4 separate regions of the Homo sapiens genome follow, and regions 1, 2 and 4 are each linked to region 3. The links are contacts of gene promoters, found by promoter capture Hi-C in blood cells and fetal thymus (Javierre and others, 2016). All regions are on one chromosome and are shown on one strand. Each heading gives the region's core, a stretch centred on a gene start or on the middle of the fragment in contact. The rest is flanking DNA. Distances are from core to core; before and after follow the strand shown.

Region 1 (5,670 bases), core at 2,282-4,781, 880 kb before region 3:
GGCAAAGTTCTTCAAAGACCAACTGTTGCAGAATCACCTATGGCAGGAGGTCCCTAACCTTTCTGGTACTAGGGACCAGTTTTGTGGAAGACAATTTTTCCATGGACTGGAGGCTGGGGATGGTTTGGGATGATTCAAGCACATTATATTTATTATGTACTTTATTTCTATTATTATTATATTGTAATATATAAGAAATAATTATATGACTCACCGTAATGTAGAATCAGTGAGAGCCCTGAGCTTACTTTTCAGCAACTAGATGGTCCCATCTCGGGGTGATGAAGGATAGTGACAGATCATCAGGCATTAGATTCTCATAAGGAGTGCACAACCTGGATCACTAGCACACGCAGCTCGCAATGAGTTTTGTGCTCCTATGAGAATCTAATGCTGCTGCCAATGATCTGACAGGAGGTGGAGCTAAGACGGTAATATGAGCAATGAGGAGCAGCTGTAAATACAGATGAAGCTTCACTTGCTCACTCACCACTCACCTCCTCCTCTGTGGCCCAGTTCCTGACAGGCCATGGACTGGTACCCATCCATGGCTCAGGGGTTGGGGACCCGTGACCTAGGGGGTTTGTTACAAATGTAGATTCTGAACTGACCCCTTTATTAGTTTCCCTTTGCTGCTGTAATGAAGAAGGCTTAGTGGCTTAAAACAACAGCAGTTCATTACCTTCCAATTCCAGAAGTCAGAAGTCTAAAATGGGTCAGGGGTTCTGCTTTCCTGATGGTTTAGAGGAGAATCTGTTTCCTTGCCTTTCCAGCTCATAAAGGCTGCCGGCATTCCTTTGCTGGAGGTTGCATCTCTCTGGTCTCTGCTTCCATCCTCATGCCCACATCTCTTTCTCTGCTCTGACCTTCCTGCCTCCCTCGTTCACCTATAAAGACCCTTGTGATAACATTGGTCCCACCCAGTTAATGCATGTGAATATTTTCATCTCAACATCCTTTTTTTTTTTTTTTTTTTTTTCACCCAGGCTAGAGTGCAATGGCATGATTTCAGCTCACTGCAACCTCCACCTCCCAGGTTCAAGCGATTCTCCTGCCTCAGCCTCCCAAGTAGCTGGGACTACAAGTCCCTGCCACTATGCTCAGCTAATTTTTGTATTTTTAGTAGAGACAGGGTTTCACCATGTTGGCCAGGCTGGTTTCAAGCTCCTGACTTCAGGTGATCCACCCACCTCGGCCTCCCAAAGTGCTGAGATCACAGGTGTGAGCCACAGTGCCCAGCCTCATCTCAACATCCTTAATGTAATCACATCTGCAAAGTCCCTTTTACCATATAAGAAAATATATTCATGTATTTTGTGGATGAACATCTGTGAGGGGCCATTATTGCACCTGCTATGATGCCCTAGGGATTTCTTTTCAGAAATTCTGTGTGGGGCCCAGGAATCTTCATATATGACGAAGCCCCTGCTGGTTGTTGCACTAAAAATTTGGGGATCATTACTATAAATAATTATATGCTTTTTAAAAAAAAGATGAGCATCCTAGGAGATTTAATAAGTGCATCAACAACTTATTTTAAACCTAAATTTGTTTTATCAAAATCAATGATTACAAGGATTTAAAGTATGCCTTTTGCTCAAATCCAGTGTTCTAATGTCACAGTATTTAATTGTATTTATTTATTTATTTTTATTTTTATTTTGAGACAGAGTCTTGCTCTGTCACCCAGGCTGGAGTGCAGTGGCACAATCTTGGCTCACCGCAACCTCTGCCTCAGGGGTTCAAACAATTCTCCTGCCTCAGCCTCCGAAGTAGCTGGGATTACAGGTGTGCGCCACCATGCTTGGCTAATTTTTGTATTTTTCGTAGAGATGAGGGTTCACCATGTTGGTCAGGCTGGTCTCGAACTCCTGACCTCAAGTGATCAACCCACCTCTGCCTCCCAAAGTGTTGGGATTACAGCACCTGGCCATTGATTGTATTTTAAAATCTCTTATTGTGCTTTTGATGTCTTAAGCAGTCTAGGTTTCCAGTATTTATTTTATTTGCTCCTTACCAATATTTTCATAATAAGGGACACCAAAACCCATCATAAGGAATATCAAGCCAGTTCTGAGCATTGAAGCCAGGACCCCTTACTAAGATTTCACATAATTTAATTATTTATAGTATTGTACCTAAGAGCATCAACTTTATAGCCAAATTGCCTTGGTTCAAATTCCATATCTGCCATTACTAGCTGTATAGCCTTGGGTAAGTTACACAACCTCTCTGTGTCTAGGGTTCTTCACCTATTAAATGAGGGTGACAACAGTCCCTGTCTCATAAGATTGTTGTGAGGATTGAAGAAGTTAATACATGGCAAATGCTTAGACTAAGCACCTACTACATGGTATACATGTAATAAACACTGTTGTTAATGTTATTATTATTATTATTATTATTATTATTTTTTTTTTGAGATGGAGCGTCTGTCTTGTTGCCCAGGCTGGAGTACAATGGCAAGATCTTGGCTCACTGCAACCTCCGCCTCCTGGGTTGAAGCAATTCTCCTGCCTCAGCCTCCTGAGTAGCTGGGATTACAGGCATGTGCCACCATGCCCCGCTAATTTTGTATTTTTAGTAGCCGTGGGGTTTCTCCATGTTGGTCAGGCTGGTCTCGAACTCCCGACCTCAGGTGATCCGCCTGCCTCAGCCTCCCAAAGTGCTGGGATTACAGGTGTGAGCCACTGAGCCCGACATTATTATTCTTTAATAATGTGGTTCACCATCTTTTCATCTCTTTGTGTAGTAATACACCCCCAAGTGTTTGTCTTCATTCATTGTCGTGTAATTGTCAAGGAGAGATCATAAATAGCACATGTAGCCTGTGGTTGTTGAGGGGACTTCTTTAGGTGCACTGTGGGGCTTTATTTGTGTGACATGGCACAGTCCTCTGTGGAATGAATTAAGCAGTCCTAAAGACTGGGGAGACATAAAGTGTGGTCCTGTTGGGAAGGACTATCCTGCTGAAAGGAGGAATGGCATGGCGTGAGATGTAAGTCGCTCTCAATTGAAGGTCAGATGTCCTTATGTCCCATCAGCGGGAGGGCCAGAAGGACTCTCAAGGAGAGAGTTGTATCTGTCAAGGTCCTAGCAGGAAAGAGATGGCACATTCAAACTGGGATAATTTTAGGAGCATTTTATAAAGGGACAAAGATGGTGAGGAATAGGGAATCCCGGGACCTGTAACAACAGAGGTACATTACTGTCCTTAAGCCTGGAAGGGGAAGGGGAGGGTGGAGAACTAGAGACAGCCTTGTAGAGGGGGCTGTGGGGCAGGATGGGCTGCAACCCTGAGAGCAACCTTCAGGGAGGGGATAAAATTACTTTTTAAAAATAATCCTCCCCGGGCCGGGCGCGGTGGCTCACGCCGGTAATCCCAGCACTTTGGGACGTGGAGGCTGGTGGATCACGAGGTCAGGAGATCGAGACCATCTTGGCTAACACAGTGAAACCCCGTCTCTACTAAAAATACAAAACATTAGCTGGGCGTGGTGGCGGGCACCTGTAGTCCCAGCTACTCGGGAGGCTGAGGCAGGAGAATGGCGTTAACCTGGGAGGTGGAGCTTGCAGTGAGCCAAGATCAGGCCACTGCACTCCAGCCTAGGCGACAGAGCGAGACTCTATCTAAAAAAAAAAAAAAAAAAAAAAAAAAAAAAAAAAAAAGATCCTGCCCTCCCCTCCCCTTTTCTTCCCTTCCCTTCCTCTCCCTTCCCTTCCTCCTTCCCCTCCCTTCCCTTCCCCCTTCCCCTCCCCTTCCCTTCCCTTTCCCCTTCCACCTTCCCCTCCCTTCCCCTTTCTTCCCCTTCCCTCCTCTCCCACCCCTCTTTCTCTCTCTTCCTTTGTTTCATTTGTTCTTCTAACAGAGTCTTACTCTGTCACCCAGGCTGGAGTGCAGTGGTGCAATCATGGGTCACTGCAGACTCAACTGCAGTATCAAGCCATCCTCCCACCTCAGGCTCCCAAGTAGCTAGGACTACAGGTGCGTGCCACCATGCCCAGCTAATTTATTTTTAATTATTTGTACAGAGTCTCCGTATGTTGCCCAGACTGGTCTTGAACTCCTGGGCTCAAGCAGTCATCCTACCTCAGCCTCCCAAAGTGCTGGGAATGCAGGCATGAGCCACTGTGCTCCGATGGGGAATAAGAACTCTGACCTCAGTCTGCTCCCACTGATCTGTTGGGGTCTTCATTGGCCTAACCCAGCCAGATGCTAAAGGACAACTGTGTAGTGCCCACAGAGAGCCTCCTGTGGACTGAGAGAGCTCATAAGGGTGGCAAATGGGTCTGGAGGGGCAAATGAAAGATCTCTAGGATGAGAGGCATTTTCACTCATTGAAAAAGGTGTCTCTGCCCTGCACCAAGTGAACTTATGTTTCCTAAATTGGTAGTACAGGAATGTTAATCCTAGAATGTCCAGCCAGGAGCACAAGGCAGCCGAGACATCCCAGCAGCCCAGTAGACCAGGTCAGCACATTGCTTGAGAAGCGCAGAAAAAGAGCCAAGTAAGCCCTGTGGAGATCACTGGCAGGGCTTGTGCGAGCTCGCTGAGCTTAAGGGAGAGTCGGTGCCCATCCCTAAGGCAGGGCAGGGTGTGTCCTGAGACTTTTGTCAGGGAGCCACACGCAGTATTTCATCACTGTTGTGGAAAGACCTTTGCTGACAAACTAGAGTGCTTGGAAGTAAAGAAGCATTCAAATGCTCCCTGGAGAGTGTTTTATAGGTCTCCAAGCAGATGTGGGGGCCTAGGACACAATCCTCGGTGCTATGAGCGCACCTGGGCCAGGGCTACACTTGGTTATTGCATCCTATCCAGATGTTTAGGATGCCCTGAAGAAAGAAACATTATTCTCAGGAGCTTTAAGATTCTAGAAATGCAGTCAGAGAGCAAACAAACAAAAATAGCAAGAAAGAAAATAAAAAAAATTTAACCTGTAAAAAGGACGGAGCATTTTGGGAATTGAAGTGGAACATGAAATTGTCAATAGCATGATACTGGAGAACAGAAATGTCAGGAGATAAAAGAATACTCAATGACAGGAAACACTTTTAACTTTGCCTCCTACCTCTTCAATCTGCTTTCTACCCAGCAGTGAGAGTAGCTTTTCAAAAGGATATAAATCGTAACGTGTTACTCCTCTCCTTAGAACCTCTCAGTAGCTCTTCAGTGAGCTTTGAACAAAACCCTAACTCCTCACTCTGCTGAGAATCCCTGGATGATCTCTCCATGCTAACTGCTTCTGCCTGCGTATCTCCCACATGCTCACCTTAGTTCGCTGCATTCTGTCACTGTTCACTGTCCTTTCCCTAAAGCTGTGTGCTCTTGATAACTTCAAAATTGCTGCACTTGAGTTACTGGAAAGGGGCCCTGATCCAGACCCCATGAAGAGGGTTCTTGGATCTCACACAGTGAAGAACTGGAGGGGAATCCTTGCAGTAAACTGAAAGCAAGTTTATTAAGAAAGTAAAGAAATAAAGAATGGCTACTCCAAAGGCAGAGCAGCAGCTTGGGCTTGATTATGTGCTAAACAAGGAGTGAATTATTTATGAGTTTTCTGGGAAAGGGGTGGGCAATTCCAAGAATTGAGGGCTCCTCCCCTTTTTAAACCATATAGAGTAACTTCCTCACATTGCCACGGCATCTATAAACTGTCTTGGCACTGGTGG
Region 2 (5,763 bases), core at 1,160-3,659, 750 kb before region 3:
TTTAGGATAGAATGGCAGGGACAATGGTTTGCCTCGCTTAAATCTTAGTGGAACTATGGTGACTGCGCTGGATCTGGTCTTTGACTCATTTCAATATAAAAAGCACTGGCCAGTGGAGCGCAAAGCCACCGTGTTGGTGGGAAGTATGTTTGTGATAAACACCATAGGGTTCCACCCCAGTGAATGACTTGGGCAGTCTTTCGTTAAGTCATGGTTCAGTGTTCTGCTCACCTTGCTAGGAAGGAAAGTGTTCACAGTTAATTCTGTGTTTTCTCACCTGTGTGTAGGATCTACTTTTGCTAACAAGCATACATCACTGCCAAAATGGTTAATTCTGGAAAGAGAACTACAGAGACAAAGTATATAAAGAGCAATTTTTCTTAGTTGAAAGATTAAAGATAATTGATTGAATTGGGGACCCATCTGGCTTTGTGATTTGCTGGAGTGACTTATGAAAACTAATTGCTTTGGTAAAGAACTAGGCTATTAAAGAATAAATTTTATAGTGTAATTTTGTAGGCACCTTACATACTTGGAAAAACCATTTGAATTCTTTCTCTAACATCAATTGGGCATAAAATAAATCAACTCACACTGAGTTGAAATGCATCATGTAGAAAACAGAGCCTTTTCACTTTCACTTTAAATTGTGCCAGAAGAAACATGCTATTTAAAAAAAATTTTTTTTTTTTTTTTTTTTTTTTTGAGATGGAGTCTCTCTGTTACCCAAGCTGGAGTGCAGCAGCACAATCTTGGCTCACTGCAACCTCCGCCTCCTAGGTTCGAGCGATTCTCCTGTCTCAGCCTCTTGAGTAGGTGGCACTACAGGCATGTGCCACCATGTCTGGCTAATTTTTGTATTTTTAGTAGAGACAGGGTTTTGCCCTGTTGGTCAGGCTGGTCTCATTCCTGACCTCAGGTGATCCGCCCACCTTGGCCTCCTAAAGTGTTGGGATTACAGGCATGAGCCACCATGCCTGGCCAGAAACATACTATTTGGTTAGAACATAGTTAAATATAGTCTCTGGTATTTTCATATGTTTTAGATTTCTTTATCTTGACAAGTGATTGAAGGAAAGAACCATTTATAGTCTGTAGGTATAAGGAAGCTTTGTATAACTGCTTCAGATCATTAACTAATGCATACATATAGACTAATACATAATATAATACATAGATCATTTATAGAGAGCCAGGGAGACTGGAATGGATGAATTGCCACTGGAAATGATTGAATACTTTTTAGATAATTAAGCATGTATTAATTAACAAGTAGAAAGAGGGATGGACTCAAATATGTCGATGATGATAATGCCATAAAATTATTGTAACAGTATTTATAAATAGCTGCTAATATAGTGTTTTCTGTGTTTTTGTTTGTTTTGTTAAATATCAATGTTTCCTAAGTATGGACATGCAGGGTTATTTCTGAAGTATTCTAATGAAGAGTTTTTGTTTTAAGCACTATGCTTTTCTTGTTATGGGGGACAGAGTGACAGACTCTTGCTCTGTCACCCAGGCTGGAGTGCAGTGGCACAATCATGGCTCACTGCAGCCTTGACTTCCTGGACTCAGGTGATCCTCCCACCTCAGCCTCCTGAGCAGTTGGCATTACAGGGGCACACCACCGTGCCTGGCTAATTTTTTGTATTTTTTTGTAGAGATGGGATTTTGTCATGTTGCCCACGCTCTGGCCTAGAACTCCTGGGCTCAAGCGATTCTCCCACCTCAGCCTCCCAAAGTACTGGGATTCCAGGCATGAGCCACTGCACCTGCCCATATGCTTTTATTTTCATGCATATTAGAAAACATAACTAACTCATCTCCTGCCTCCCTGCATCCTTCTCTTCTCTCCCCTCCCCCTCCCCTCATCTTTTTCTTTTTCTTTTTGATGGAGTCTCTCTCTGTCACCCAGGCTGGAGTGCAGTGGTGCAATCTCGGCTCACTGCAGTGGTTCAGTCCCACCTCCTGGGCTCAAGTGATTCTCCCTCCTCAGCCTCACAAGTAGCTGGGACTACAGGCGTGCACCATGACGCCTGGCTAATTTTTTGTATTTTTATCAGAGACAGGGTTTCACCATGTTGCCCAGGCTGGTCTCGAACTCTTGAGCTCAAGCAATCCGCTGGCCTAGACCTCCCAAAGTGGTGAGATTACTGGTGTGAGCCACTGCACCTGGCCTCACTGTAGGTATTTAAAAGGAGTCTAAAATAGGTATTTAAATAAAATAACTCTGTGTAAGAAAATTGTTAAGTAAAAAAGTAGTTTTGTATGTAATGTAAAAATTGTGAGGCTGGCATATGAATGATCAAAAGTGTGAGAACTACTAATTTAGGTGACTGATAAACAGCTGTTTCTGTTTAAATTCATTAATATATTTTAGAGTTAAAAAAAAACCTGGTGGAGGATGAATGGTGGTGGGCTGTCTACATTAGAGGTGCAGTTTCACCTGTAAGTTTGAGTCCTGAGCCTTCTCATTCTCTGAGTAAAAGTTCTGAGACATGTTACACAAAGGCTCTTTCTTTTTTCCCTTTAGCAGCTGTTTAGTGCAGTAATAACTTGGTGTTTTCACAGAAATAGGGATTTCTGTTTTTCCACTGTGTGGAGAGCTCTCTCTCCCACTCCACAGGAGTAGAGACAGGAGATACACTGTGATATCTCTGATTCTAGCATAGTGCCTGGTGGTTGCTCAGTAAATGTTCTTTGGATACCTGTAATTGCCATTTAGTAAAACTAATAGGAGTAAAATGTAATATATTTTATTTAAATATATATTTAGGCCAGGCGCGGTGGCTCAAGTCTGTAATCCCAGTACTTTGGGAGGCTGAAGTGGGCAGATCATTTGAGGTCAGGAGTTGAAGACCAGCCTGGTGAACATGGTGAAACCCTGTTTCTACTAAAAATACAAAAATTAGCCAGGTGTGGTGGGGCATGCCTGTAATCCCAGCTACTTGGGAGGCTGAGGCAGGGGAATTGCTTGAATCTGGGAGGCTGAGGTTTCAGTGAGCTGAGATCATGCCACTGCACTCTAGCCTGGGTGACAGAGTGAGACTCTGTCTCAAAAAAAAATTTATATATATATATATATATATATAATATTTAATATGTTATTTATATCTTATCAGTCCTAAGTATAATAGGAAATTTACTAGATAGTAGTATATATAGGCAAACTGTAGACTTTTGGTATTAATAGCAGCAATGCCTTTTTTTTTTTTTAACCTTTCTTGTCTTCTTGGTGGTCTCACCTTGACTCTACTTGAAAAGGTGACAGGAGTGTGACGAAGTGGAAGGAACATCGGGTTCTAGACTTGTGTCTGTCCCCTTCTTATAGAATCTGGGATGGGAAGGATGGAATGGAGGTGTAACCTACCTTAGAAGGTGTGGGTTAAGTGTGAAATAATAGCTGCATAAATACTCAATATTGTCAAGTTCTGCAGATGTGTATGTTTATGTTATTTGTGTACTGTAAGGTGTCAGCACAGGACTGTAATACCTTACCTAGAAATGATTATATTTACTCCCCGCAGAATGTCTGCCCTTTTCTCATTGAGAAGCCAAAACAGAGCCCCCCATTAAACAAAATTTAATGTTCATGGGGGTTTGTCAGAAATGTGGAGATATCACATTGTATTGATCAGGAATTGCATGTAGCTATTACAGACATAGAACCTGTTATAAAAAAGAGTTACGTTCATGGAAACAAGCTTTCTTTTCTTTTTTTTTTTTTTTATTATACTTTAAGTTTTAGGGTACATGTGCACTTTGTGCAGGTTAGTTACATGTGTATACATGTGCCATGCTGGTGCGCTGCACCCACTAACTCGTCATCTAGCATTAGGTATATCTCCCAATGCTATCCCTCCCCCCTCCCCCCACCCCACCACAGTCCCCAGAGTGTGATATTCCCCTTCCTGTGTCCATGTGATCTCATTGTTCAATTCCCACCTATGAGTGAGAATATGCGGTGTTTGGTTTTTTGTTCTTGCGATAGTTTACTGAGAATGATGATTTCCAATTTCATCCATGTCCCTACAAAGGACATGAACAAGCTTTATTTTCTATGAAGATATCTGAGAAGGTTTTCTTTGGGAGTTTTATATAAATTCTGTGTTTAATATCTTCCTTAATATGTTGGTTTTCAGTTTCCTTATCATAATTAAAGAATATAAGGAAGACATACTTGATTGGTTTCACCAAGCTCAGACCTTCCCTCCCAGGCACCAGATAAATGATATTATTTCCAGTTCGTGTCATGACATGAAACGCTGAATTGCGCTTGTTGCTTTTTAATACTGTGACATCTCAACTGCTGTCATTGGTTTTAATCTGTGGGTGATCTTGGAAAGGGATAGGTTTGATGTAGGTAGCCTAGAACCTTCTCAGGGATTGTGGAATATGTTGAAACTTATGCTGTTTCTGAGAACTATCTTTCTCCTTTCTGTGGGTCAGGCTGACATAACTCAGAGCACTTGTAATCATGACTGTAGCCAACTGTGGTTACCTGCAGAGGCTTAGATCAAATAGGAATTTGTCTCTTCATTTACTCACTCGGCATACATTGAATGAGCATCTCTGTACTGGGCATGGGGGAAGATGACTTATTATTTGTCTTGGTTCTTAAGGAATTTATAGTCTAATGGAGGAGAAAGACACACAGATTCTCATATAAATGGATGGCGTACAATGATAGATTAAATAGGCTTTGAGACTTACAGTGGAACTGTGGGCCATGATTGCCATTTGAATTTTAAAAAATTAATAGAATGTATGATTTTTCTGTTCTTAGTTATATACGTAAGACTTGAATAAATACTCATTGTGAAATAAGAAAGGTAGAAAGATTATAGCCTAAAAACGAGTCCAATTTTATATCCCATCCTCCTCCCTGTGCCACTTTTCATTATTATTATTTTTTAAAACCATTGCCTGATTGATGAACATTTTAGGTCATTACTTTTTTTTCCTGTCTAATGATGCTTAGTCAGTTTTTTTGCACATATATATATTTGTTTACCTGTGTGAATTATGTCTGCAGTGAAATTCTTAGAAGTAGAATCTTGGCTGGAGTATTTTTCTGGGGGTGCATTTAATCTGTTATTGGAATTCATATTAATATTAGAATTAATAGGCTTTTTTTTTTTTTTTTTCCCTGAAAGCAACTGAAAATGTATGGCAATGTGGAGTTGCAGGGCAGTAGTCCTAATGGTTTAGCTACAGCATCTGCATAGGTCTTTTATATAGAAAGTGTCTGGGTAGTGGTGTTTGACCTTGGTAACTTTTCTCTCTGCCATTTGAGCCGCTGCTGTCTTCATATCCTCCCTATCTAGAAATTCCCTCTCCAAAGTTGTTCCATATTCCAAAATTTCCCTTTTCACACTCCTAGTATACTGTTGACCTCAGGTAGGCACAGTTTTGATTGTCAGAGCAAAGAAAATTAACCATGTATGTCTTTCCAGATAGTAGAATTTTCAGGGTATTCCATGAGTTCCAAAGGATGATTTGTATGAAGTATATTTCACTAAGTATAAAGGAAGTAAAACACTCATACTATGGTCTCTTCCCTCTCCTCTTCACCTCCCAGTGCCTCTCTACAAACTTTTTAGGATACCACTAATGAGTACTTGACATATTCATAGTTAGTCCATAAACCTGAGAGTGCTCCTGGATCCTCATAGGTATTTCATTGCACTCTGTGATTGGAATTTTGTTTGTTAAAATTGACTAGGAAACTATATTTCAGTAACAAATATGTAGAATTAAGAA
Region 3 (5,284 bases), core at 110-2,609:
GCTTGAACCCGGGAGGCGGAGGTTGCAGTGACCCGAGATCGCGCCACTGCACTCCAGCCTGGCAACAGAGCGAGACTCCGTCTCAAAAAATAAATAAATAAATAAGTAAATAATATCAGAATATATTACATAAGCTTTCAAATTCTGAAGAAGCTTTTAAAAAGTAAGACTTTATGAAGTGACTTTTACAAGTTATTTGAGGAGAGCTTTCATTCTAGTTTGTAGAATTAAGGCTATTTCAATTTATGAAATACAAAAAATTATTTGAAAGATACGTGTATCAGAAGGTATAGCTAAAATATGAAACTGATTACAGCCCCTGGAGTGCAAATGTGGTTTAAGGATCAGGACGGCCTTGAACATAACCTACTCATAATCAGATGGCAAGAATGACATCAGCTGGAGAACTCTCTTCCAAGACCTGGATGAAATCACAGCCCTCTAGCAACATCCACCTAGATCCATGTCTTACCTTATACTCAACTCCACTGTCAATATTATTTTCCCCAAGGAAAAAGTAAAAAATGAAAGCACAACACTAATCTTCTGTCTCCACAGGATGTGGCAAAATGAGAAATAACAATTACATTTTATTTTCAAAGGTGGCCCACGGCTGAAGCACTCGGACCTTACACTAAAGCGAAATTTTCCAGCAGTCACAAGATCCAGTTCTTTCACAGCCGACTAATAAAAAAGTAAAAGAATCGACATTAAGCTGCGCCCAAACAGGCCAGGAATGGGACCTAAGGCGTCACGAAACTTCCCGAGGACATTATGTATTTAGAGAAGGCCCCACAGAAACCCTCAAGTGGGAAAGCTATGTCTCCCGGGTCTCGGGGTGGCAGGCAGCCTGAACCCCGAGAGGTTCGAGGCAAGGCGCCCCCGGCCGGATTCGGGCCCAAACCAGCCCGCCACGCCCTGAGCTCCGCGCAGCAAACCTGCCGGCCGAGCGGCGGCCCTCGGAATGGTGTTTTCTCGGCGCTACAGGAGGGAGAGCGACCCAGAGAACTTGGGCCTGGCAAAGGCCGGGAACCAGGCAGGCGCGGGTGGGGAGAGGAAAGCAAACGTCGCGGGAGAGCGCGGCCCAGAGGCCGAGGAGGGCGCGAGCGGAGCCGGCCCGAGCCCGCCGCTGCAGTTTACAGTTCCCGTCGCGGCCCAGGAGACAGCAGCCACCGGGGCAGAAAGAGCCCAGCCACCCTCGTCACGACCCGCACCTCCGCCTCACCTGGACTTGCCCACCCCACTCTCGCCGATGATGAGGATCTTCAGGGTGGTTAGCACGTCCTCGTCCATCCTGACCCCGTTCCGCTCCGAGCCCAGCTGGCCGCCCGGGTGCGCCTCTCAGCCCTTCAGCAGAGTGAGCTGCTGCGCATGCGCGCCGCTCCACGTCTGCCACCTTCCTTTCACACCGGGTGTTCAGGCTGCCGAAGCCCTGGACTCCCCAGTTCCGCCTTGAGGTAGCTCCACGGCTGCGCGACCCAGAATCCCCGGCGTTTTTCCGGACTGCGTGTTCCTCCCCTGCGCAAGCGCAGGTGGGGAGCGCTGTGTGTGACTTTGTTGGCTTCTTCTTGAGGTCTAGCTCCGCCCCAGCCTCAACCTAACCCTCCTTTTGAGTCAGTGGGAGGACTCAGTCAGGAGAATATCAAGCTGTTTTATTTCGGCAGCTGCTCATAACAGCTGCACTGCGGTGGGAAAAGCACTGTGCTTGAAGCAGATTATCTTAAATTTAGGTCCAGCTCTACCTTATAACTGCCTTGTCATACTACCCAGCTTTCTTAGCCTTTCTCCATCTCTGAGAGACACAGTAACACTTCTTAGAACATCTGCTTCTTATTGTTATGAAGGTTAAGTGAGTTAATTTGTGAAGACATGTTGTTAACCAAAGTGCTCTATAAAAGGTGTGATCAGGTATTATCTTGCTGGCTTCCCCTCTGTTATAGTGGAGAGCACCCTCTGCACCCTAATTCATCTTGAAAGGGAGGCGTAGACTTCAGGTAGGTCAGGTGCATTACTTCTGGCGGTGCAACTTCAAGTCAACTCTCCTTCCTCATAAGAACTGCTACACCCATACTGCAGGAAGTGTATGTCTACACCTTGCCTCCTGCATTAAGTTGTAAATCTTAGTGAAGGTACCAAACCTCATTCATAATACTTAGCACAGTGCCTGGTACATGGCAGGCACTCAATAAACCTCAGTTCTCTTGTCTTATTTCCTTATACCTGCAGCTAATGTCATATACAATGGATATTTGATTAAAGACTACATATAAATAAAATTTCAAATGTTAAGAAATTAATTTGTTAAATAGCTGGAAAAGCCCTTTCAAAAGATATCCCAATGGCTTCTCCTCCTTCAGGTCTTCGCTCAAATGTTGCATTCTTAAAGAGGCCTTCCCTGTCCATTCTACTGAAATATGCAAATCCCTCCAGCATTCTCTAGACCTCTTTACATTGTTTTTCTGCATAGGATTTAACCACTCTCTGATACACTATATATTTTACTACTTTATTAGAAGTCTCATGAAGGCAAGGATATTTTGTTTTGTCTACTGGTATGTCTTCAGTATCTAGAGTACTTCATGGCACATAATATGTGCTAAATAAATGTATGCTGAATGAATTAATTGAATGAATGTTGTAGAGTCCATTCCTAACCTTAGAGAATAATGTCAATGAAACAACCTCCACTTCTCATCAGATAGCCCTTGAAACTTCAGTCAAGTCTATCTAGCTTACTTTTCATTATGACAAAAAGATCTTATTTATGAGGTTCACAGTATTGTCAAGCTCTCCTGCCCTGGGGTCCCGAGATCCCTAGAAATCCCTGAAAACCTTTCAGGGGGGTTGCAAGATCAAACTATTTTCATAGTTAATATGTTATTTTTTCATGCACATTCTCTGATGATAATATAATGGAGTTTTCCAGAGGCTATATATTAATAACATGTAATAGCAAAACAGATTGAAGGCAGAACAAGATATGTGAACTTACTGGTTTTCTATGATATTAAGCCAGATATTAAAGGGATTTCCTAAAATGTAAAACATTGCCACTGTTCTCAATTTTGTTCTGTTTTAAAGTAGTTATTTTCATAAACATTTCTATTAACTGGTAATAGGTTTATTATTGTTTTTAAGTAAATTAACATGTTTGAAATTTTCTCAGTTTTAATTTCTAGTAGGATAAATAAGAGATGTAATCTCTTTGGGGTTCTTACAATCAAAAGCTCTTTCAGGTCCTCAATGATTTTTAAGAGTATACTATAATTTGTACAACCAAAAAGTGTGAGAACCATTGCACTGTGCTATTCACACCAAGATAAATACAAAAACAAAAACTTCATCAATAAATCCAGGGCTATCTCTTGCAACCTGTAATACTGTTGACGTACTTTGGCAATATCATTTTCTCTTGGATTTCCTCCATCTCTTGGCCATTTCCTCTCTTTCTTTTTCTTTTCTTTTCTTTTCTTTTTTTTTAAGAGATGGGATATTGCTATGCTGCCCAGGGTGGTCTCTAACTTCTGAGCTCAAGAAGTAATCCTCCTACCTCAGCCTTTGAGTAGCTGGAACTGCAGGCATGCATCACCACGCCTAACTAATTTTTAAAACATTTTTTTAGAGATGGGGTCTTGCTATGTTGCTGGTCTCAAACTGCTGGGCTCAAGCAATCCCCCTGCCTCGGCCTCCCGAATTTACATCTCTGGCTGAGATTTTTCTCCTGAGGTTCAGGCCAACATACACAACTGCCAAGACATCCCCACATGGGGGCTGGCAATAAAGAGATGTACTTAAAAGACACAATGAATAACTGTCCCATGCTTAGTGAAGAAGAGGGGAAAGAAAAGGGAAAGAAAAACATCGAACATTTCTCTAATGTTTCAAGCCTCGGCACTACCAATCTGAGAGAAAACCCAAGACAGAAACAAGAAGGAATATGAGTTTCGTTTCAGCCATAGTGAATTTTATGTAAAGGTGAGCCTTGAAGGCAAAATTTTTCAGACCTCTTTTAGAGCAGTGGTTCCAAGATTCAGGACAGATAGCAAGACACTAAAAAAATGAACCAAGGAGATGGCCTAGGTGTTCTAACCAACAATTTGGCCTAGGTGTTCTCTTCTATATACTATTATCCTTACATCCCTGGAAAACACAGCCAAATCCTTTCTTAGGTTTCAGACATAACTGACTGCCCTTTTCCCTGTGGATCCATCTTCTAGTATTAATTATTTTTACCATATCCAAATATATGATCACCTCATAAAGGAATGTCTATGGCAATATTCTTAATACCTGAAGTTTGGGATGAGCAATGAGCAAGCCCAGTATGTAGGAAGAAATTGAAATGGCGAAACCACTTGGAGATGTGATGGAGAAGGCCCATCCCATGTTGCTGTCAGTAACATGCCTACAGTGGGCAGCCCCAGAGATAGACAACAGATGAGAGAAAAAAACAGATTCAGGCCTTTGACTTTTCTCCATCCTTCGGCATCAGTAATGAAGATAAGAGAAATGCTGCTTGCAGAACTCACATTCTGTGAACAGGTACCAACATGAGCACTGTGACTCATGGCTTATGTAGGACTGCTTGGGTCCAAGTGTAACAGGCGTCTGTGGCTAGAGTTTAGGAGTTGGTAGTGAGAGAAGTCATACAGCATTGCCACCTCCGCCCCCAGCTCCATTGCCCCTGGCTGAGCTGAGGTTCCGAAACAACCCCCACCCTCTCCAGGTACTGCTTCTCCTTGCCTCGGTTGATATGCACAGGAGCTTTGGTATGCAGTCAAGGAAGAGATTACTTTTTGTTGTTGTTGTTGTTGTCGTTAGAGATAGGGTTTCACTATGTTTCCCAGGCTGGACTCAAACTCCTGGGCTCAAAAGATCCTCTTTCCTTAGCCTCCCAAGTGGCTGGGACTACAGGCACATTATACCATGCCTGGTTTAAAGAGGAGTTCATTTCGTTGTTTAATTATTTGGGTGAAGGCTTGGGGATTTGAGAGAAGGGTTAGAAGTAAATTCTGTGGAAAAGGTAGCTGAAATGTCATTTTGACCACTTGGGTGGGGTTTTAGCCCTATGATTAGAGGGGTCAGGGTCAAGAGCTGGAGTAGCTACTTTAGGCTTGCAGCCTGACACAAGCAACTCTGTCTGAGGGCCCGTGGGACAGGATAGCTGGGGCTGAGAAGAAGGTCATTGCACTATTTTTTCCATTTGACCCAAGACCCTTTTCCAACCTTCTCTGTTACAATCTATATAATATCACCTTCTACCAAGGAACTTATTTTACAGCAG
Region 4 (5,354 bases), core at 2,297-4,796, 860 kb before region 3:
GGCATGGGGGTGAAGGTGACAGTGACTAGTATATTGCTTCAGGATGTGTTCTGGCCCCTTCTTATGGTGTCACCATCTTCTAGGATGTGGCCAGAGCACGGTGAGGTATGTAACAAAATGAAACCTTTTGCTTAAAATCAAATTGGCCAGCAGGGCGCGGTGGCTCACGCCTGTAATCCCAGCACTTTGGGAGGCCAAGGCAGGTGGATCACAAGGTCAGGAGATCGAGACCATCCTGGCCAACATGGTGAAACCGTCTCTACTAAAAATACAAAAAAATCAGCTGGGTGCGGTGGTGCACACCTGTAGTCCCAGTTACTCAGGAGGCTGAGGCAGGAGAATGGCTTGAACCCAGGAGGTGGAGGTTGCAGTGAGCTGAGATTGTGCCACTGCACTCCAGCCTGGTGACAGAGTGAGACTCCGTCTCAAAAAAAAAAAAAAAAAAAAATCGGTCAAAGTACAATATTTGCTTCCTACTCTGCTCATCTTCACCTGAAAAATCTACAGATTCTTCAGATTGCAAACCCATGCTTACCAAAGATAAATGCTTGCACTTTGCATGAATTTGAAAATGTATCTCTTATTTTTCATTCAAGACTCCAAGTTGGCCAGACAGGATGACTCATGCCTGTAATCCCAGCACTTTGGGAGGCCAAGGCAGGTGGATCACATGAGGTCAGGAGTTCAAGACCAGTCTGGCTAACATGGTGAAACCTCGTCTCTACCAAAAATACAAAAATTAGCTGGGTGTGGTGGTGCGTACCTGTAATCCCAGCTACTCAGGAGGCTGAGGCAGGAGAATTGCTTGAATCCAGGAGGCAGAGGTTGCAGTGAGCTGAGATTGTGCCACTGCACTCCAGCCTGGGCTAACGAGCGAGACTCCGTCTCAAAAAATAAAAATAAATAAAAATACAAAATAAAAATAAAGACTCCAACTCAATATTTGGGGAAAAAAAGCCACTTTTATCCCTGTCTTTGACCCCTTAATCATTTTTCCTTTGCTGGACCTAGTCCTGTCTCTCTGAACTCTCTGCTGCAATTTCCTGACACTGTGGCCCAGGTCTGGGGAGCTCTTTGGGTGGGGCTGAATGCCGAAGCTCACTCACCACTTCCCTTCTTTTCAAAAGAAGCGAAAGTCTTTCTAGTTCCTTCGGTTTGGGTACTTTCTTTAAGTATGTGCCTGAGTAGACAAGTCATCGTATTTCCTGATTCTGCTCACTGAAAGTAGTTTCTACTTGTGTGCAGGAATAGCTTCTAGCTCTGATGCTTAATTCTTTTGACTTAAATATCCCCATATGGTGGGAGGTCTAGAGAGGAATTTATACCACTGAGACTCTCACTATATATATTTTTTCTGTCAGTTACTCTTGTAAGCTGTGAGTCTTTAATGATTACCATATGCACAGGCCCATATGGTCTGAGCCTCCACTCAGCACGTGTTCCTTGATCATAATGTCACAGAGCAGTGTGGCTTTTCCTGTGAGCATTCTGTGCAACATAGCATGGTGACAGATACCTTATCCGGAGTCGCCATTTTATTTTTTCAACGTTTTCAGTGCGTCTTTGGAAACACTAGCCAGCCACTTGTAGACACGTCAAGTACAGATTCATATTTGAAATATCCTGGGTAAATATTTAAAGTATTTCTGTGCCAAGCAAAGTGGCTCATGCCAGTACTTTGGGAGGCTGAGGCGGGAGGATCAGTTGAGGCCACGAGTTTGAGACCAGTCTCGGCAACATAGTGAGACCCTGTCTCTACAAAAGTAAAAAAATTAGCCGGGCATGGTGCTGCACCTGTAGTCCCAGCTATTCGGGAACCTGAGAAGATGACTTGAGCCTGGGAATTGAAGGCTGCAGAGAGCCACGATTGCATCACTGCACTCCAGCCTTGGCGACAGAGAAAGAACTGTCTCAAAAAACAAAAAACAAACAAAGTCTCTCTGTAAGTTTGTCTGTCCATGATACGCAGGGAAATTCAGAGAGGAATTTGAATGTAACTTTTATCTCTGTAAAACAGTAGCATTCCTTCTTTCTGGCCATACTAAGGACCTGTTCCCTAAATGGCTGGAGCCCACGTTAGTTTGAATTGCTGCGTGTGAAGCAAAAATGCAATTTCATTATCCGAACAAAACAACTTGGCTTCATCGTGGGAAGCTCGTTAATTTCAAATGGAAAATAATCAACCCAGAAAAGGATGGGTGGGCTTTTTCTTCCTCTTTTTCCTGTAAACTAGAGGAAAATGGTTTTTGGCTGAAAGATAGCTTGGCAAGAAGCTTGACTCTTCAAAAGGAAGCCCCTGTAGAGAGCAGATAGGCTCTGACAGTGGGGGGCACAGGTCTGTGTCCATTTGTCACACGATTTTGAAACTGGCAGGGGTGCCCCTGCTGCTTATATCACAAGAGGGTTTCCACAAGGCACGTGTTCTCCAGTGAGGGTTCTCAGTAACTCATGAGCCATTTGCGACTCGGTACAAATTCCCAGGGGCCCAATCTCTCCTCTTTTGCCTGCTCCACCTAATTCTAGATTAATGTCATGGGTGGGTGAGAAGAAAAAGAAAATTATAAGACTTTCTATCTATTTTTATTTTTATTTTTTATGACACAGGGTCTTGCTCTGTCACCCAGGCTGGAGTGCAGTGGTGCAATTATGGCTTACTGCAGCCTCAACCTCCCAGGCTCCAGCTATCCTCCCACCTCAGCCTCCTGAGTAGCTGGAACCACAGGTGTGCACCACTACACCTGGTTAAGTTTTGTATTTTTTGTAGGGATGGGGTCTTGCTATGTTGCCCAGGCTGGTTTTGAACTCCTGAGCTCAAGCAATCCACCTGCCCAAGCCTCCCAAAGTGCTGGGATTACAGGTATGAACAGTCACGCCCAGCTTCTAGCTATTTTATTTTAGATTCAGGGGGTGCACGTGCATGTTTGTTACATGGGTGTGTTGCATCCTGGTGGGACTGGACTTCTAGCTTACCCATCACCCAAATAATGAACGTTGTACCCTTTAGCTTTTTAAATAGTAACAATGAAAGCAAATCTGAAAACCACTGGATTATACACCCCAGTCTATAAAGATAGAAGCAAATTATATGTAAACACTGCATACATGTTGGGGATCAGCAAACGATACCCCAAAATATGGTGCTTTGACATACTGAAATAAAGAAGCAGCCTCAAGTTCACTCTGACCTTCTCCCCACCTCCAACTCCTGTCTCTTCACCTTCTGTCTCTCCCAAATGCACAAGAAGAGAATGTTCTCTGAAGTTCCCTAATCTAGGTAGAAACTGGACCCGCCAAAAAGGAACACAATTGCCTTCAATATCCTCCCTGAAATTTCATTAACCTGAGAAGATTAAAGCTTGTATCACAGAGGAGACTGAAAGTGAAACACCACACCTGGAGCCCAGATGAACTTTGTCCCAAACTATCATCTGTTCTCTGATCCCATTCAATTTCCAAAGAGAATCATTTACTTACCATTGTCTGAGCATGGGGCTCATTCATCTCCCCTATAAATCATTCACTACGTCTAAAAATAGCCATATTTCCCTTTTCTCCCATTCCTCCACAAAGAAGGATATAAAAGCAACTGAGCCTCATTGGGTTACTGGGTAATCATCCTTCTGTGACTCCCCTGTGCTAATGCACATTACATACATTTGTTTGCTGTTTTCTTCTATTAACCTGGCTATTGTCCATTCATGTTCAGCACATCTTTCAGAGGGCGGAGGTGAAGCTTTTCCTTTACCCCTAAATCTGCATAAGCAGCTCACTTTTCAGTTTCCTTCATATGTTGTTTTCATCACTCTTTCTCCTTCTTCCTCCTTTTTTCACTTATCCTATTTTTCTCAACCTGTTTTATTTTTGTTTTTCTCCTCCAACTCTTTCCTATTCTGTCTTTCCTCTTCCTTATTATTTTTCCTTCTTTTCTCTGTGAGCCTCTCCTTCCTCTGTAATTTCTGTCTTCCACAGCAGGCAATAGGAGAGCTCTAGATTTCATGTGCCACAACCTGGACTGGAAAAAGATATGAAGCCAGGTCACGTGGTAGCAACAATTGAGTCTTTTAAAACATTTCCAGGGTCCCAAAGTAGTACTTAGGATAAAACCCCTTTATTGTCTCCATATTGTCTTCTTGCATTAGGATTTTTAAAAATTGCACTTTTATAATGTTTTTTTTTAAACATAACTTAAGGCTGGGCGCAGTGGCTCACGTCTGTAATCCCAGCACTTTGGGAGGCCGAGGCAGGCAGATCACCTGAGATCAGGAGTTCGAGACCAGCCTGGCCAACATAGTGAAACCCTGTCTCTACTAAAAATAAAAAAATTAGCAGGGCGTGGTGGTGTGCACCTGTAGTCCCAGCTACTCAGGGGGCTGAGGCTTGAGAACTGCTTGAGCCTGGGAGGCAGAGGTTACAGTGAGCTGAGATTGCACTACTGCATTCCAGCCTGGGCAACAGAGCAAAACTCTGTCTGTAAAAATATATGTATTTTATTTTATATATATATATATAAACTTAAGAATGTTTGACTTGTAAATATTTCAGTATTATTTTAAAATCAAGGCTAGGATGTGTGGGGGTTTCATACTTGTAAATGAGTTTAGGTTGTATTATACCTGTTGTGATTTTTTTTCATTAGTATCATTTTTTAAAAAATGTTTTTCAAAATAATTTGTGTAATAGATCATCATAGCACTTTCTGTTAGAAAAGTTTTCTTAATTATAATCATTAAGTTGGCTAACTTTTCTGAGGCAGTAATAATGGCTTTTAGGTGATAGGGTGGTGGTAGACTTTGTTTTTTTATTTTTATTTTTTTGAGATAGGGTCTCGCTCTGTTGCCTAGGCTGGAGTACAGTGGTGTGATGCTTATAGCTCACTACAGCCTCGAACTCCTGGGCTCAAGAAATCCTCCTGCTTTGGCATCCCCAGTAGCTTCAGCCTCCCCAGTAGACTTTTATCTATGCTCAGCCTGTTTTGTTTTAAATTTTTTGTAGAGATAGAGTCTCATTACATTGCCCAGGCTGGTCTTGAACTCCTGACCTCAAGTGATCCTCCTATCTCAGGCTCCCAAAGCACTGGGTTACAGGCATGAGCCACCATGCCTAGCCTTATTGTTCTGTTTTTTAAAACAATTATCCAGTGATGTGAAGTTGTGAGAAAGAAGTTGACATCACACTGTAGTTTCTCCTCCTCCTCCTCCTCCTCCTTCTTCGTTTTTTTTTTTTTTTTTTTGATGGAGTCTTGTTCCATCACCAGGCTGGAGTGCAGTGGCATGATCTCAGCTCACTGCATCCTCCATCTCCCAAGCTCAAGCGATTCTCCTGCCTCAGCCTCCCAAGTAGCTGGGACTACAGGC

The links. The method cuts DNA at HindIII sites, captures the fragments that hold promoters and counts their contacts. A CHiCAGO score of 5 or more calls a contact.
Region 1: a fragment that was not itself captured here is called in contact with the fragment with the promoter of RAB18 in region 3 in 1 of 17 cell types (total B cells); the score reaches 6.1 in total B cells.
Region 2: a fragment that was not itself captured here is called in contact with the fragment with the promoter of RAB18 in region 3 in 1 of 17 cell types (naive CD4 T cells); the score reaches 5.6 in naive CD4 T cells.
Region 4: a fragment that was not itself captured here is called in contact with the fragment with the promoter of RAB18 in region 3 in 2 of 17 cell types (naive CD8 T cells and total CD4 T cells); the score reaches 5.5 in naive CD8 T cells.

Annotation. Positions count from the first base shown.
Region 1 is chr10:28,386,241-28,391,910 of GRCh38, reverse strand. No RefSeq gene overlaps it. Among named protein-coding and RNA genes, the nearest start is that of MPP7-DT, 86 kb to the right of the region's middle. The HindIII fragment of the contact is 6,114 bases long and covers 475-5,670 here.
Region 2 is chr10:28,255,712-28,261,474 of GRCh38, reverse strand. All of the region lies in intron 1 of MPP7 (MAGUK p55 scaffold protein 7), which reads left to right. Among named protein-coding and RNA genes, the nearest start is that of MIR8086, 31 kb to the left of the region's middle. The HindIII fragment of the contact is 2,595 bases long and covers 1,112-3,706 here.
Region 3 is chr10:27,500,379-27,505,662 of GRCh38, reverse strand. RAB18 (RAB18, member RAS oncogene family) reads right to left here and starts at 1,359. Exons shown (of 7, transcript NM_021252.5): 1 at 1,226-1,359. The coding sequence starts at 1,293. LOC124902399 (a long non-coding RNA gene) reads right to left here and starts at 1,218. Exons shown (of 2, transcript XR_007062097.1): 1 at 939-1,218; 2 at 571-684. RefSeq lists enhancers at 1,224-1,283, 1,394-1,663. The HindIII fragment of the contact is 11,751 bases long and covers 156-5,284 here.
Region 4 is chr10:28,364,140-28,369,493 of GRCh38, reverse strand. No RefSeq gene overlaps it. Among named protein-coding and RNA genes, the nearest start is that of MPP7-DT, 64 kb to the right of the region's middle. The HindIII fragment of the contact is 378 bases long and covers 3,358-3,735 here.